Linked DNA regions of Homo sapiens: region 1 is linked to region 2. Evidence: promoter capture Hi-C in human tissues and cell types (Jung and others, 2019). All regions are on one chromosome and are shown on one strand. The core of a region is centred on a gene start or on the middle of the fragment in contact, and the rest is flanking DNA. Distances in the headings are between cores, read along the strand shown.

The links. The method cuts DNA at HindIII sites, captures the fragments that hold promoters and counts their contacts. A contact is called where the count stands out against the background at its distance.
Region 1: a fragment that was not itself captured here is called in contact with the fragment with the promoter of TMEM97 in region 2 in 1 of the 25 tissues and cell types used here (IMR-90 fibroblasts).

The regions. Positions count from the first base shown.
Region 1 is chr17:28,142,975-28,148,173 of GRCh38, reverse strand. All of the region lies in intron 3 of NLK (nemo like kinase), which reads right to left. LOC105371711 (a long non-coding RNA gene) reads right to left here and starts at 4,882. Exons shown (of 2, transcript XR_007065686.1): 1 at 4,758-4,882; 2 at 1-4,134. The HindIII fragment of the contact is 4,609 bases long and covers 1-4,071 here.
Region 2 is chr17:28,315,259-28,320,462 of GRCh38, reverse strand. TMEM97 (transmembrane protein 97) reads right to left here and starts at 1,263. Exons shown (of 3, transcript NM_014573.3): 1 at 1,098-1,263. The coding sequence starts at 1,223. RefSeq lists enhancers at 1,140-1,199, 1,680-1,939, 2,159-2,984. The HindIII fragment of the contact is 5,118 bases long and covers 1-1,541 here.

The DNA of each region.
Region 1 (5,199 bases), core at 518-3,017, 170 kb after region 2:
CTGGAAATACAGGACAGGCCTTTGATGGGAGATCAAAGTTAAAAATATAAGTTTGGGAATCATTAGATACAGTAAAAATTAACAATTTCTACTTTCTACTAAATGAAATATGCCACACTGAGGTATTTATTTGCATTTGGTTACAATCTGCTTTTCATTTGCATAAAAGTTTATCTTTAAAATTTATTTTTCCATTTCTTTCCTTCTTTTATTAAAAAACCTGGATATTAAAATTATGGAAGCTTCTCACCATTAATGGGTTTTAAATTCAACCTTAACAACATGACATTCTTTAGAATAATGCAACCAGTGTCAGCAGCTGAATTGTTAGTGGACAGTGCCCAAATATAACAAGCAGCACATCCTGCTAGATTCCCACAAAATTTGCTGAGGAAGAAAACGTTATCATGGAGGACAGAATTTGAGGCAAGAAAAAGCAAGAAATGAGACATCTTCTGAAGATCAAGGACATTAGGTGGGAACATATTAGAGATATCAAAAAGGGAGAGAACAGAGAGGGTTGCTTAGAATTAAAAATAGGCCTGTACAATTTTCTCTGACGCAAAAAAGATTATGGGCAAGAAGACCAGGTAACTAATCTAGAGCCTGGCAGCCATCTACACCTCAATGATAAGCCTCTCCTGACCTCTTGCTCCAATTAAAGCAGATCTGTACCATGATCAATATTTGTTTAACCCACCTATACGATGCTGCATCTATTTTAGGAAGTAATTTAAGAATGCATAATAATCAGCCTCACACCAGAAATACTGACTACCCCAACTGTCAAAGGTAATTCCTCAGAAAAAGCTACACAGTCACCACAGAAACAAATGCTGACATCAAATTCTGACCTTCAATTATAAATAAGATGATTGAGTACTTTTCTGTTTTTAGGAAGTCATGATTACTCAGGGAGTCTCAGAGCCTTCAGGACTGGTGCCAACAGCATCTTTGTTTAACCATCATCATTAGCATCAATAAACACTGACTGGGTACTAAGTGGGTGTAGAGAACATGTTAACTCAATGACAAGACTGAGAAAAAAGATGGATGAATGCAAGGCAACAGCCAAGAGGTTGGAAAAAGACTGACATTGACATGTAAAAATCAAGGAGAGAGGGCAAGAAGGTGCAAAAAGATTTTAATGTAAATGAACAAAGAAGCCTGACTGAAAACAGCTGAAATTTACTGCAATTTTCTATGTGTTAGGCATCCAGCTTTAAATTTATTTTGCCTCACCTACTCCTAATTACTGTAAGAAGTAAGTCCCATTATGGGTTCCCATTATACAGAGCAAAGAGGTTTAGAGAGGTAAAGAAATTAGTCAAAGGTCTTAGTGTGCAGCGGACGTGGCACTAGATCACAGCCCTCGTTCTTGTACTCTGTCCTTCAAAAGATAAAGTAAACTTCAAAAATAGAAAACTAAAAAAAGAGGTAAGAACAAAACAATTCTACTTCAGGAGGGAGAAGGCCTGGAAATTGATTTTTAAAATAAGGAGTTAACAGGTTCAGCAGTGGGAGGCGGTGTGTTTGTTGTAGGCTTTGGAATCAAAATGACCAAGGTTAGAATCTTGACTCTGCCACTTAGTAGCTTGATAACATTAGGCAAGTTAAATAACTTCTCTGAGTCTGTTCCTGCATTTATAAAACAGGTACAGGAACACCTACTACACAGAGTTACTGCTAGGATTTAGAATCACATATAAATGCCTGGCACACAGAAAACGATTTAGGTGGTAGCTGCTATCATCATCATCATCATCGTCATCATCATCATCATCATCATCAACATCGTTATATGAGGGAGGAGGGGAAATGAGTTTTTTTTAAAACATCAATACATGCTAGGTGGTATGCCAAATGTTCAACGTACATTAATTCATTTATTCCTTTAAAATAACTGTGAGTAAGAATATCATCTCCATTATCATTGAGGAAACTGAGGCTTAGGGAAGAGTATCAAGTAACTTTTTGAAGGTCAAAAAGCTAGTAAGTGGAGGAAAAAAAATCAGGATTTGAACTCAGAGCTGCCTGATATCAAAGTCCATGGCCTTTTTCAAAATGTATGAATGTGCCCCTATTTCTTTCCAACATTCTCCCCAGGGAAAAAAGCAAAAGAATATAAGGAACAAAGAAACTGGCAACCACTCAAAAAAGCTCCTTTTGGCTGGGTGCGGTGGCTCATGCCTGTAATCCCAGCACTTTGGGAGGCTGAGGTGGGTGGATCACCTGAGATCGGGAGTCAAGACCAGCCTGGCCAACACAGTGAAACACTGTCTCTACTAAAAAATATAAAAATTAGCCAGGTGTGGTTGCGGGCACCTGTAATCCCAGTTACTCAGGAGGCTGAGGCAGGAGAATCCCTTGAACCCTGGAGGTGGAGGCTGCAGTGAGCTGAGATCATGCCACTGCACTCCAGCCTGGGTGACAGAGTGAGACTGTCTTTAAAAAAAAAAAATGCTCCTTTAAGCCACTGTGATCTCAAAAGGAAAGACTAGGCCATCTCAAAAGGATATCATCAATGAAGAAGGAGAAAAACTTTATTCACTTTTTATTAATGTGGTCTCATGCAGGGTTTTTGGCATCAAAGAAACATGTCCGTGACAGTCACATTCCTTTAGAGTTTACTCATTCACTCAAAGGACAAAAAGCCCTTGACTTACACCAAGAAAGGTTTTCTACAGGACATATTTTTGACAGATGGGAACTTGAGGGAACAATTAAAAGTACTAGTTTCTGTGAGACCTCTGAGAACCTCTACAGAAGGTAACTCCTGGTTTTGGTAAAGGGTTAATAACCTGAAGCGTTTCTTAGTCTTGAGCTCAGAGTGATAAATATTACCTATCAGATTAGTATTCTTCATATTTAACCCTAATTACAGAAAAGGATTAATATTCTATAACTGATTAATAGTCCCCATATCCCCCCAAAACAAAAGCACACATTAAAAACCCCAAAACTTTGCTTACTCATGCAAATCATATTTTCTTTGGTAAAAAAAATGCCACTTCAACCTGATCCTATTTTCTACCATCTGGTTCTCTTGCCACCTCTAAGTGATGTAAACTATCAATTAAACGTGTAATTTTTAAACCCACTGCCAAAGATACAATTCAATATTTTTGATTAATACTTAATAATGACAGGCATAGAATATGCAGAGAGCAAAATAATACAAGCAGCACATAAATAAACTGTACTCTGGCTAAAATCCAGATTTGTGCTAGTGTGCTACAGGTCTATTAAGTTTCCTGAGGTACTGCTCTCAAATAAATTGGGTTGATAGCAGGAGACTCAGCTGGTCTATGAAGTGCCTAAAAGCCCCACTGATTCACCATATCCTCCAATTATGGCAAGTCTGATATATTTAGTGGCTTCTGAAACCTCTAGGTCTCCACCTAACACATGCCTCCTGGTGTCTAGCAATCTTAAAAAATAAAGTCAACACAGTGGGACATGACAAAAAAGATCAAATAAATACAGTCCCATGAGCTTCGCTAAACTCTCACACCTGAATTAAGTATGTCAAGAGGTTAATAATCAGAAGGTTAACCAGAAGGTTAAGCAGTTCAGGAGAATGATAATGAGGTTATGAGGCTTTTCAGAAGCTCAAATTAAGTGTGGCTTTGTTATTATTCAATATTACCCTCTAACAGTTGGGAGCACTGACAGCATTTCATTCCCACCAGCTGGGAAGTTTTAGAGATATATTTATTTTTTAATGGAGAGGTGAAAAGACTAGATTCAAGCTTTAGTTTTTTTTTTTTTTTTTTTGGCTTCACCTGGAACACAGGTGTTTCAAAGAGCTAGCGTGAATAAGTTGTTCCAACTATAGTGACTCTCTTCAAAGCAGAGGGAAAAAAAATCCAGCTGTTGAGTTTGAACTTTAAACAGTGCTTTAAAACAATCTCAGGATTTGCTACACACTAAATCATCTTTATGCAGACAGGAAGGCCTTTTAAATGAACTAAAAGAGGTGATGTGAGTTTTACTACATGGCATAGGAAGGGGAGTGGTTCTTGGGATCTCAGGCTGAAGCAGAAAATTATGTCGTATGTAGATGGCGGTCAATTTTCTATCTTCCCATGTTCAGGCCTGCCAACATAGTCTATGACTTACATTTTTCACACCCTTCAGAAAAAAAGAAGAAAAATAAAGTTGATTCATTACATAGCATTTAGAGAGTCAATAAGAACTGGGAGAATTTACAAAGTATTACAAATAAATGCTTACCGATGACAAGGTGTTGTATAAATATGTCATAATAAGGCACTGCTGAATAAACGCTTTTAATAACAGACAGCTAACCATTGTGGACAGTTCAAGTTGTGCGTATGTGTGAAAAGTTGTGATACTGTCTTATGTAAAAAACTATCAGGTCAAAAGCTTTTGCCATCTAGAGTTCAGAAAGATAGTGGGCTGGCTTCCCTGCTCAACTGAAGTCTGAGAACATATTTAATATTCCAAGTGCAATGAGCTACTGATGCTGTATGACGTTCTAATGATGCGTTAAAAACTTTCAGATAGCAAAATAAAGATATTTAATTGGTTTATCTGAGTTGGGAAAACAAAATGGCAACATGTTGTATCAAATTATTTCCTACAGAATGAATATGGACAGAAAGCTTTGAAAACCCTATTTTAATTCCTAAACTCTCTTTACTATTTCAGATAATGGAAACTTAATCATTCTTTTTTCATTTAATATGGACAGAAACTAATGCTAAGCCAGATTACAAAAAAAGAAATCTTACAATATTAAATATTTATCAAGTAGGTCCCATATTGGTCAAAGGTTCTACAATCCTTTTTTAAAAGTTTTCATCTTTGGCTGGGCATGGTGGCTCATGGCTGTAATTCCAGCACTTTGGGAGGCCGAGGCGGGCGGATCATGAGGTCAGGAGAGCGAGACCATCCTGGCCAACATGGTGAAATCCTGTATCTATTAAAAATACAAAAATTAGCCTGGTGTGCTGGCATGTGCCTGTAGTCCCAGTTACTCAGGAGGTTGAGGCAGGAGAATTGCTGGAACCCAGGAGGTGGAGGTTGCAGTGAGCCAAGATCATGCCATTGTACTTCTCCCTGGGTGACAGAGTGAGAATCTGTCTCAAAAAAAAAAAAAAAAAAGTTTTCATCTTCAATGTGACATATATTGGAACAAATATGAGTCAGGTGACTTTTCCAAAAGACATAGTA
Region 2 (5,204 bases), core at 14-2,513:
CATGCAAAAGGAGGTCAGAGGTCTTCCAGTTGTGTTTGGTTCTAGAAGCAAACAAAAAAGAGTGACTTATGGGAGTGGTAGAACATTCTTGAGCCGTGGCCTTTTTGGGAGAGTTAGGCCCCTTGAAAAGTCGATGGAAGCTATATTCTCCTTGCAGGAAACAAAAGGCACACACACTTGCACCCATTTTTGGGAGTTCATGACCCTCAGGTAAAGAACCCCTCCTCGGCAGATAAAAAGCATTTAAGGAAAAACAGACGCAAAATAAAATCTTCGGGTAGACAAGTCAGTCCTGCCTACAGTTATAGATAAGATGGAGAAACAAAACTGAGGACAGGAATTCCATGGAAGAAGGTCACAGGGTCCAGATACGAGAAAAAAACCTCAACGAACCGGGAAACTAAAACTATAGCTTTGAAGAAAAAAACAAAGCATTAAAGCAGAGTTTGGGGTTGAAAGAATGCTCTCCAACAACCAGGAAATCGGGATTTTCACCTTTATTTTTACTCAGGAGATCATTGTTACTCGAACCCAATATTGAAGAGCCAATCTGAAAAGATGGCAATTTACTCCTGAGCTCTGGAAGTTGCTGGAACCTGATCTCGAAGCAGTGACGATCTGTGAACGCCCCAGCTGCACCAACCAAGGTGCTAAACCTTCAGACAGGTCTATTTCTACTCGGATTTTTTCTTTGGGATCAGACTGGTATTTTAAAGCCCTTCCAAACAAACAAACAAAAAACCAGAAGCTTAAAGCAAACCTAACATGTGACTTTGGACACCACTTCATCCAGACTACTTCCCTCAGACACTGACAACCGGCCAGAGGTGGAATCGCGGGAAACCTTAAACCCAGGGAAGAAGTGACTTTAAAGGAAACAAAGCGTTCGCCCCCGCCGCTTGGGAGAAGGGGCTGGGATAGAGACAAAGCCCGAGGAAAACACCGAACTAAAGTTGGGTTAGGAGCGGGGGAGGCATGGGCAGGACCCGAGAGAGGCAACTGGAACCCAGAGTGCGCGAGCGCGGAGGAGGTGAAGGCCCTGTGGACGCAGCGCCGGGAGAGCCTCAGCGGGCCGGGATAAGAGGGGCGCCCCTCACCTCGACTGGGTAGAGCTCGCGCGGCAGCACCGCCTGCAGGTCCATGAACAGGGTGATGGGGATGTGGCTGAGGAAGTAGAGGCCCAGCAGCCACTCCACGCAGCGCCTGGTTGCCGGAGCCCCCATAGTCTGTCGGTTGGGCCTGGACCCGCTGATGTGAGAAGAGGGGCCAAATCCGCGCGCCTTCCCAGACCCACGCGCCTCGGTCGCCGCCTTGCCCCCGCGAGGGCTAGGCAGACCGCTTCCATTGGCTGGCGAGAAGAGGAGGCTCGTGGACAGGGGGCGGCACTCCCCACAGGGCGCACCCATTGGTCCGTATAAGTATAGCGCGTGGAGAAGGCGTCTCGTAAGCCATTTCCATTGGCCGCCAGGAGCGCCGTGTGGGCGGGGCTTAGTCACGCCGTTCGGCGCGCGGCTACTCAGTGTAGATTGCGGTTGTGAGCGCGAGCCTAGCGTTTCGGTGCTGGCCGCGTGGTATCCTGGTGTCCCGGCAGCTGCCGGCGGCGCTCCCTTCCCTCGTGGCTCCGTTCGCCACTACAACAGCAGTATGAAAACTGCACTGGCCCTTGGGCCTTCTGCAGTAAGTCAGCATTAAAAAAATAAAGCTGACGCTGTGCACGGTGGGTCATGCCTGTAATGTCTGCACTTTGGGAGCCCGAGGCAGGAGGATGGCTTGAGCCCAGAAGACCAGCCTGGGTAACTTAGTAAGACATTATCTCTACAAAAAATAAAAAATTAGCCAGGTGTGGTGGTGTGCACCTGTAGTCCTAGCTAGTTCGTGTACTAGTGACCAGCGCCTGTGCTGGGCCGCGGTACCCCGGTGCAGTGCGGCCGTCACGGAGCAGGGGTCGCAGAGCGGGGCACGAGCGCCGCGGTGCAGGTTCCCGGCCCAGCCGGGGTTGCGGGTCTGGGGAGGCAGCTGGCCGCGGTGAACAAAGAAGCAGAGGGGAGGACTCGAGGGACGTAGGAGGCAGTAAAATGGACAGGAATCCTCACCGGCTGTGGAGCATGAGGGAAGGTCAAGGATTCGTTTACACGTTCAGCAAATACTGATGTTCATCTCCACGCTGGGCGCAGGCCTGTCTCGGGGCAGGATCGCCGAGGCTGCCATTTGCTAAGAGGGGACACAGGGCAAGGGAGTGCGAGGAAGGAATGCAGCTTGGACTACGTGGACCTTGAGTGGGCTGCAGCGTTGGGTGGAGGAGGCAGTTGGGTGAGCCTGTCTGGAGTCGTAAGCTTGTGAGGCATCCGCCTTTGATGGCGAGCAGAGGGCCTGGGAGAGATCCTGGGGGAGCTCCAGCCTCAGGTCATGGGAGGAGGGGACTGAGATAGGAGCGTACTAGCAGGGGGCTATGTCACAGGGAGGGGCAGCCTGTCAACACTGAGTGATGCCCGCCTGTGGCCCTGTGGGGAACAGTTGTGTCGTGGGGGCAGGAGCCAGGGAGTAAGAAAGTGGGGAAATGGAGGCAGGAAGTGTAGACAGCTGGTCACGAAGGGGAGAAGACATGGGGCAGTAGCTGGAGAGAGATGCACTCGAGAGTTTATTTTGCAGGTGAGAAAGACTTGAGCTAGTTTAGTTTTGACAGTGGGAGAGGTTACCCCTACTCGAGAAGAGCAGGAAATGCGGCTCAAAGCCCTGGAGGAGGCGGAGGGAATGGAAGGATTGGGGTGGGTTAGGTGGGTGCACTGCGCTCCGCCCAGCTTCCCCTTCCCTTGGGGCGCTGTGGGCTAGGACAGAGGGATTATGGCAGTGTTGAAGGCCCAGCTGAGGTGGGGGGCCGCTGACCCGGAGGCCCCAATCTCTTAGGCTGTGTGCTTTGCATTTCTCTAGTGCGGGGTCTACCCAGAAGAAGGCTGTTGGACCCCTACAGAGTTTGGGTTCAGAAAAGCGAAAGGTGGCTTTGAAGAGCTGAAGAAGAGTGATTGAGGTGCAGAAGGTTGCAGTTCAAGCTAGGTAGGGGGAGAGGGAGAGGTGAGGCCAAAGGGGGCTGTAAGACAGGGAGACAGTGGAGGCCTGCTGAGGAACACGTGCCAGCGTGATGGGAGTCACTGGGCCGGAAGGGTGGGAGCTTATGAGGAGGGCGTGCAATACCTGAATTCCTGGGGTCAGGAAGAGGTTCTGCCCGTGGGAGTGTGCGGCTGAAATGGAGTGGAGGGGAAGGTCTTTGGAGATGAGGTCAAGGGAAGGCCACCCAGGGTGGTGGTGGCGAAAATGCCACTGCACACGGGGGAGTAACCAGAAGGAAGGTGAGCATGGGATGAGAGTGGAGGGGAAACTGTGTGGACATGGCCTTGCGGAGGGAGGAGGCCGCTTATCCTGACCTTGAAGGGTGCGAGAAGGTGAATAGCCTGCGCTGGAGAGGGCTGTGGGGAAGCTGAGTCCTCAGCCAAGTGCCAGTTACTGGGGGAGGTAACAGTGGAGGGGTTTGGCTGGAGAGGAGGAGGAGCAGGTTGGAAGGAGACAGTAGGAGAAATGTGGAGGTCTTTGGGTGGGGAGCAGGGGATGAACAGCATGGGTGGCTGAGCATCGTGAGGGCACACAGTTCTGGCGTCCCCCAAGTCTCAGGTCAGCCTTGCCCAGGACCACAGAGCCGGCAGCCACAGGGAGGCAGGGGTGTTCAGGGCTGTTTGTCCTGCTCCGAGGGGGGAGCCGGGCTCCATGGAGAGAACACTCTACCAGGGGCTCAGGAGGGAGGACTCAGAATTAGCTGCTGCTTTTTTTCCAGGAAAAAAAAAAAAAGTCAATGCCTGGGAAACCTTAGGTCACCTGAGGAGAGAGCCCATTTTGTTCACACCATAAATCTTTAAAGGCAGTTTGCTCTTTCTCAGACTCCACTCTGTTCCCAGACTAACTACTCCTGTTAGTCACTTAGTAGCCATCTTGGTTATCAAATTGACCATTGAGTTATCACGGTGCTTGTGTTCAAGTAAGCCTTATGTTATTTAATAGTGGGCCAGGTGTGGTGGCTCATACCTGTAATCACTTTGGGAGGCCGAGGCAGGAGGACCCCTTGAGGCCAGGAGTTTAAGACCAGCCTGGGCAACATAGCAAGACCCCATCTCTTAAAAAAAAATTAGCTGGGCATGGTGGCTTGCCTGTAGTCCCAGCTACTTAGGAGGCTGAGGTGGGAGGATCTCTTGAGCCCAGGAGTTTGAGGCAGCAGTGAGCTGTGATCACCTCACTGCACTCCAGCCTCCACAACAGTGAGACCCCTCTCAAAGGCCCTAAAGTGCAATGGTAGCGATGTGACAATTCGGATATGCCAATGAGAAACCATAAAGTTCCTTTATGTGAAAAGGTGAAGATTTTTGATTTAGGAAATAATGCTGAGGTTGCTAAGATCTAGAGAACAGTAAGATATTTTGAGAGAGAGCACATTCACATACTATTTATTACAGTATATTGTTATACTTGTTCTATTTTATTGTTAATGTCTTACTGTGCTTGATTTATAAATTAAACTTTATCATAGGTTTGTATGTATAGGAAAAAACAATATGGTTCAGTACTACCTATGGTTTCAGGCCTCCACTGGGGGTCTTGGAACATGTTCCCCCACGGATAAGGGGGACTTTTGTATACAGCTCCTCTCTCACTTCTCCAAACCATTCACTTGAATGAGAACATGAAGGCTGGGCGCAATGGTTCACACGTGTAATCCCAGCAGAGGCCAAGGCAGGTGGATTACCTGAGGTCAGGAGTTCCAGACCAGCCTCACCAACATGGTGAAACCCAAACTCTACTAAAAGTACAAAAGTTAGCCAGGCATGGTGGTGCACACCTACAGTCCCCGCTACTCAGGAGACTGAGGCAGGAGAATCACTTGAACCTAGGAGGCAGAGGTTGCAGAGTCATGATAGCACCATTGCACTCCAGCCTGGGCGACAGAACAAAACTCTGTCTCAGAAAAAAAAAAAAGGCTGGGCATGGTGACTCAGGACTGTAATCCCAGCACTTTAGGAGGCTGAGGTGGGTGGATCACCTGAGGTCAGGAGTTCAAGACTGGCCTGGCCAACATGGTGAAAATCCATCTCTACTAAAAATACAAAAATTAGCCAGGCATAGTGGCGTGCACCTGTAGTCCTAGCTACATGGGAAGCTGAGGC